2 separate regions of the Homo sapiens genome follow, and region 2 is linked to region 1. The links are contacts of gene promoters, found by promoter capture Hi-C in blood cells and fetal thymus (Javierre and others, 2016). All regions are on one chromosome and are shown on one strand. The core of a region is centred on a gene start or on the middle of the fragment in contact, and the rest is flanking DNA. Distances in the headings are between cores, read along the strand shown.

Evidence for each region. Contacts are between HindIII fragments. The CHiCAGO score rates a contact against its expected background, and 5 or more counts as called.
Region 2: a fragment that was not itself captured here is called in contact with the fragment with the promoter of LDHB in region 1 in 4 of 17 cell types (naive CD4 T cells, fetal thymus, activated CD4 T cells and 1 more); the score reaches 5.9 in naive CD4 T cells.

The regions. Positions count from the first base shown.
Region 1 is chr12:21,656,227-21,659,601 of GRCh38, forward strand. LDHB (lactate dehydrogenase B) reads right to left here and starts at 1,616. Exons shown (of 8, transcript NM_002300.8): 1 at 1,525-1,616. RefSeq lists enhancers at 1,168-1,257, 1,288-1,537, 1,515-2,043, 1,918-2,097. The HindIII fragment of the contact is 8,571 bases long and covers 1-3,375 here.
Region 2 is chr12:22,058,806-22,062,180 of GRCh38, forward strand. CMAS (cytidine monophosphate N-acetylneuraminic acid synthetase) reads left to right here. Exons shown (of 8, transcript NM_018686.6): 5 at 2,027-2,121; 6 at 2,476-2,647. Among named protein-coding and RNA genes, the nearest start is that of CMAS, 14 kb to the left of the region's middle. The HindIII fragment of the contact is 1,555 bases long and covers 944-2,498 here.

The sequences.
Region 1 (3,375 bases), core at 366-2,865:
TTTTTCCAAAAAATATTTCCTCCCATCTGTAAGGATAAATTAAAAGGAGATTCTTTCGCCTTTACAGATCACATTTACAGTTTCCTAGTGGACGTTAAAGAGAGAAGATGCAATGTTGTGCAAGTGCCTCCACAAATAGATGACCTTAAAATGAAATAAATTCAGACATGGCCTGCATTTTAAACAGGCTCAGAAGAAAGAATGCTGCATCTCTTTTTGAAGGACGACACACATGAATAGTTGTTCTGCACTTAAGTTTATTGTTGTTAGATGGTCTGTTTACGACCGTTTTGGTATACAGGGGGCCCAGGAAGCAGTGGAAAATGAAAATGAAGAAACAGTGGCTATATAAATACAGATTCGTTGTTCTGATAGACCTTTTAATTTAGAAAACTTCAGGAAGTACAATTTAAAGGCTCGAACCAGATTTTCTTTCAGATATTTCTGGAGAAAGTGCTTTTCTTCAATTTTTCCTTAAAAAGAGTTTTAAGAAATGAGAAGAAAATGGTCTGCATGATATACAGGCCTGTGCCAACATCAGAGTGCAGGCTGTAAGGAACAAGAACGACAAACGGTAAAAATCTCTGAGTCTTGGTCCCTTATGTCTCCTCACTGCTGTGGATATAAATCATTAGAAATAAAGGAGCGCCTTAATTTCAGGAACAAAGATCTTCTTTGCAGAATCTTTCTCACCGTAATCTTTTAAAAATTCAGGTTTTGCTTTTGAATTCCTCCCCTCCCCCCATTCCCCAGGCCCTTACTGCAGCTTGTACTGCTCGCGGTGCGCACAAACCATCTTTTCCTCAGGGCACCGGCAGCAAAGAACAGCAGATCACGAGGGCATGCAGAAGCTAGAGATCTCCCCGAGTAAGGTCTGTGGGGACAAGTCTAGGACTTCCTTACTCGGAGCACCCAAGGCTGGTAAAGTAAACGAAGCCCCTAAGCATCCAGAAAAGAGGCCCTGCAGGAAAGAACTGGCGCATGGCTCCTGGAAAGACCGTCAGAGCCGGGTAAAAATAAGTGCAGCGCCAAACGTGCTGGTCATCTAGGTGCCTTTCTCCTCATCCCAGCGAGTGCAAGGGCATTTCTCTATTACCGTGGCAATATATTCAAATATTCGAGGTAAAGATCGTCCAGCCTTCATAGGCCACCTGGTTCCGTCCCCCTCCCCCAGCTACTCGGGCACGTGTCCCGACTCCCGCCAGCAGGCCGTGGGGGTGATGTGGCCGCCATGAACCCACCAAGGACAAGTAGGGCCTGGTTTTAGCTGCAAATGCAACAAGTCTCTCCGCTGAGCCGCAGCTGCTACCCTCTGCCTTCTGCTCCTCCGCCAGGGCACGGCCCCCCCTGCGCCCCAAACTGAGCGGCAAAGTCAGGGCCCGCGGCCGGATGCTCAGAGCTAAAGGCCGCGGAGGACAGATGTGCTTCTTCCTCCTTCCCGCGTCTCCCCATACAAGTACTACCCCGCACGTCCCATCAGGCTTGCCTGTGGGCCAGGATTCAGGGTCCTGAGCCGAAACCTACCAGGAGAGAGAAGGCTCTGGAGACCTCTGTAACAGTCGTGCGGAGAAGACAAAGTCAGCTGCGTGCGTCTCCTCCGGCGCCGGCTCTGCAAGGAGGGAGGAGGGGGCGGGGCCCCACAACCACCGCAGCCTCTTAGGTTTCTCCATTGTGATTGGAAATCCGAGTACCGCCTACCCCTCCCCTCGGCTCGCTCAATCCCCTTCAAGGACAAGGGCTCAAGTATGCACACTCCCTCCCCCACCCTCCAGATGAGGAGGTCTCCTTCCAGAGGCTTCCGCTCTCAGCTGGTCTCACATCTCGCAGGCTCTTCAATGCGGAGGCCAAGTTATTTATAAAACTTGCCCATCCCCGACTCTTCTGGACTTTAACGCTCTTGTTCTATTAGATTTAGTACAAATAGAAATAAATTTCTTTCCTTCTTTTTTTTATTTTGAGACGGAGTCTCACTCTGTCGCCCAGGCTGGAGTGCAGTGGCGCGATCTCGGCTCACTGCAAGCTCCGCCTCCCGGGCTCACGACATTCTCCTGCCTCAGCCTCCCGAGTAGCTGGGACTACAGGCGCCCGCCACCTCGCCCGGCTAATTTTTTGTATTTTTAGTAGAGAGGGGGGTTTCACCGTGTTAGCCAGGATGGTCTCGATCTCCTGACCTCGTGATCCGCCCGCCTCGGCCTCCCAAAGTGCTGGGATTACAGGCCTGAGCCACCGCGCCCGGCCAGAAATAAATTTCTATGTTGCATTTCAGTTAAACTTTAAAGGACTTAAAAAAATACATCTGAATTTAGATCATCTCCGTTTTAAAGTTCATTTGATGAAAATGACTATTTTTTTCAACCTGTTTCAACAAACACGCAATGATTGCTTACTCGTTGCCTGACAAGACCAATGAGGCTTTGTCCCTGCCATCTGAAGTTCCCCTACAATTCCACCTGGTCTCAAGGTCAGGCTTTGCCCTCTAGGGGAAATGTGGGACCACTAAGTGAGATGCACTTTCTTTTTTAGTCCCTAATCGACTCCAAAGCTGGATGTTGTCATTCATTCTGTCTTCAACACTCAGCCAGTGCTTGGTACCTAAATATAGCATTGATGAATAAATGAATGAATGATAAATTGGAGGAATTCTGAAGAGTCTGGCTTCAGTTCTGTTTTCTTATAATTAAAATGCTTTCAAATATAGCCATCTCACAAACTTCCTGTATGTGAAGTGTTTTTTTTTGTAAATGCATATTTCTTGTATATGACCACTAATTCTATAATTATTGCTTCAGTTTATTCTCAGTGCCAAGCATTGGTAAAAAACATAAATATAAGATTATGCCCTTTGAGGTGTTCCTAGTCCATTGGAGACAGACAAGTAGGCAACCTATTTCAATTACAATAAGTGGCAATAGAAATTTGGTTAAAGTACAATAAAAATTCAGAGTAAAGAATCACTAAGAGAAGGGTTTGTTGAGAAGAATTCATAAGCCTCAAACTCTCCTAGCATAAATCATTCAGCTAGTGGGGACTTTGACTGAAGATACAGTCCAATTACAAATTAAAATGTGATGGTGAGGAAAAGAGCTTGGAGGATAATCTCAAAAGTATTACATTAACCCTAAATCCAAGTTTGAAGCAAGAATAGCCAAGTCAGCCTAGCAAGTTATCTAGAAGGTACCCTAGATTTCTTTTTCACTTACTTTGCAAGTCAGATATTTAGACTTTACTTCTAAATATCTTTCCACTTATTCCTCTTCTTGCCATCCCCATTACTGTGTAACTTTGGAGATGAGGTAGGAAAAAATGAAAAGAGGTATCTATTTCCCTCCTCTACCCTCATTTCCATTCCTCGCCACAAGGTGTTCTAATCTGATT
Region 2 (3,375 bases), core at 471-2,970, 400 kb after region 1:
AACCTATAGAGGAAAGGTAATAGCCAACAACATTTGCTATCTGAGGCATTTATCCTGCAGGTTTACCCCAAAGTGATCTTTGGAATCCATTCAGTAAATATGCAAGGAATTCTGCTACAACGATAAAAAAATGAATCAAGTACTGGGTGTCTACACATGTCCTGGTACTCATATTATTCCACTCAAAACTACGTAATCCATGTTTGTGTTATAGTTATATTGTGGCTGTAGGGTTGAATAACTTCTATTGCTTTAAAAAGACAAATAATTTCATAGAGGTGAAAAGAGTTACAACCTGGGTGTCAGGAAACCCGGAATCTTTTTATATATATATATATATATATTTTTTTTTTTTTTTATTATACTTTAAGTCAACTGCCTCTTACTATGTAAGCTTGAATATGTATCATTTTATCTGTCCTGACTCTCATTTTCAAATAACAGATTTAATGTCTCTCTCATTTTAGAGCCTGCAACATGGTTGCATCATATATTTCTTAACTTGTTAATTTTAGTTATCATTATTATTTATTATTTACTGTGTACTTCGGAGTAGGTGAAACACTTTGCATATGTTATCTTATGTAATCTGCATAGCGAATGAATGAAGTGGACATTTCTACCCAGTTTTACAGAGGAGGAAAACTGCCTCACTGAAATATGAAGTAATTGACTCAAGGCAAAAACAGCTAATAAATGGTACTGTCAGGATTTGGATTCAGGTTCTTATGTTACTCAAGAAATAGCGGTTTTAAAGAGAGAGAGAGAAACCTCTCCATTGTGTAATAAAAATTCTAATGGGACTATTATTCTGAGCAAAAGAGAGAAAAACATTTTTACAAATCTTCTGGTCAATGTGTAGGCAAACTATAGACTAGCTGTTTAGTTAAATTTAAGTGTTCAGAAAAATTGGATTTGACACACATAGATACTACCATTTTTAAGCTTTTTTCTAAGGAGGACCATGATTAACCCATTCCTAAAGTGTGGAGAAAAATGTTTCTCATTAAAACAAGGTTTATGAAGAGACTGACAATTCTGAAAAAAAAAATGAAATTGAAATTGTCCAGTAATTGATCTTGTCATTCAAATAATTACTATCAGAAGAAAGACCCTTTCTCTTGCTGACCCTTGCCTAGAATCAAGAGACTGCCCTTGCCTTTGCCTGCATGTGACTTGGATGACTATTAGTCATTTTCATCAGTAGCTCAGAGATCTAAGAAAACTCTGTACAACAGATGCTACAGTTATTTTTCCTCCCCTGTGTTGCCTGTTAGTTGCAAATTAGAACAGAAGTTCCAAAAACCTTAATACTGCTTTTGGATGATGACAGGAGAGACTTCTTGAAAAAAAGGAGGATATGATTAAGGGATTTCCACAAAATCCCTTGTGGTCAGAAACCTGGAGGATGTAATATTTCTGCTTTTTTCAATATTAAAATAGAAATTTTCTTAAATAGGGAACTTGAACTGTTTAGATAGAATTTGAAAAATGTTAAGGTTATTTCTTTTGTGTGAGCTTTCTCCTTAAAAAAAAAAAAAAAAAAAAAAAAAAAGCTGGGCGTGGTGGCTGAAGCATGTCATCCCAGCACTTTGAGAGGCCAGCTTGAGGCCTCAAGAGGATAGCTTGAGGCCAGGTTTCCAAGACCAGCCTTGGCAACATAGCAAGATCTTATATCTACAAAAAACTTTTTAAAAATTTAGCCGGACATGGTGCTGTATACCTGTAGTACCAGATCCTTAGGAGGCTGAGGTGGGAGGATTGCTTGAGCCTAAGATTTCAAGGTTATAATGAGCTATGATTGCACCATTGCACTCCAGCCTGGGAGGCAGAGTGAAACCCTGACTCGAAAAAATAAAAAAGTAAAAATAAATTTAAAAATCATTTTTATGTGACTGATTTTTACTGGGTTATTCATTTTTCTCAGTACTGTAGAAATGAATTCATTGTTCTGTATTATAATAAAGTTTTGATATATGTGAATGAATATTAAAAACAGTATTCATGACATTTATACTACCTTTAGGGTGGAAAAATGGCATACTACGAAATGCGAGCTGAACATAGTGTGGATATAGATGTGGATATTGATTGGCCTATTGCAGAGCAAAGAGTATTAAGGTAAAAACAAATAAACCTTTATAACCTTTGTACTAAATCTTAATAATTATATTTCTAGATACTGATTTCTGATACTTCAGACATCTTAGGATCTTTGTAATTACTTTGTTCATGTGAGGAAGACATGTAAAATATGTGTTTACATGGCTTCAATAAAGTGAGAAACATTATCTGGCTAGACCACACTACTTTTACTTACTGTACTATATGTTAAAATATATATGTGAAGTAAATTTGGAGAGTAATGTTTGAATAATTGAATGGAGGGTGACATTTCATGTATTGGTTTAGCCAGATGAGAGGGAGTGATTAGTACTGCACTTGTACTCAAAGGTCTATTTTGGTTTCTTTTAGATATGGCTATTTTGGCAAAGAGAAGCTTAAGGAAATAAAACTTTTGGTTTGCAATATTGATGGATGTCTCACCAATGGCCACATTTATGTATCAGGAGACCAAAAAGAAATAATATCTTATGATGTAAAAGATGCTATTGGGATAAGTTTATTAAAGAAAAGTGGTATTGAGGTATGTGCTCCCTGAATATAGCAGTATTTTATAATATTTTGATTCAGGGTCAAAGAACATGCAAGGAATTAAGAGATTTAAATTTTTAGTATTAACTCTTAAAATATCTGAAATTTGGCCTTCATACGCCTAGAAAATTATTATACTATTTAGTTTTAGATGAGTAGAATTAGGAATTTGTTAATCAGCAAATAATATTTCTTGTTTATTCAGTAAATATAAACATAACTACTTTTAAATGGGAGCTATCTAATGTTTCCCAAAGGATCTTGCAGCAAGAAAGATTCCCTAGATAATAGGTGTACCATTTTAGAAAAGGACGATATCCTGTGGATTTTTAAAATCTAGCTTATTCTTATGAATGACATTTTTGATTCAAAATAACTTAACGTTTAAGTGTATTTTTTTAAATGAAAGCTAGCTAAGATAATTATAATTTACCAGAAATCCTAAATATGTATTGCTAAGCAGCACAAGAGAGAGGTTATAGACTTTCCTCTGGATAAATTGAATTATAGGAGAATCTTAGAGTAGTATCAGACAATATATGTTGTAATTTTTACCTGTAGATAGAATCCTTTCTATTGTAGAAAATAAAATACTGTGTCTCACCTTTATTGGGCTATGAGAAATAAAATGAGCTTTGTTTTAAAGCATCATGATTTTAATTCGACAGTCAGTTTTCTTACTTGGACCTTCAGAAAGTCAAAAGATGACTCGTTTGTGAT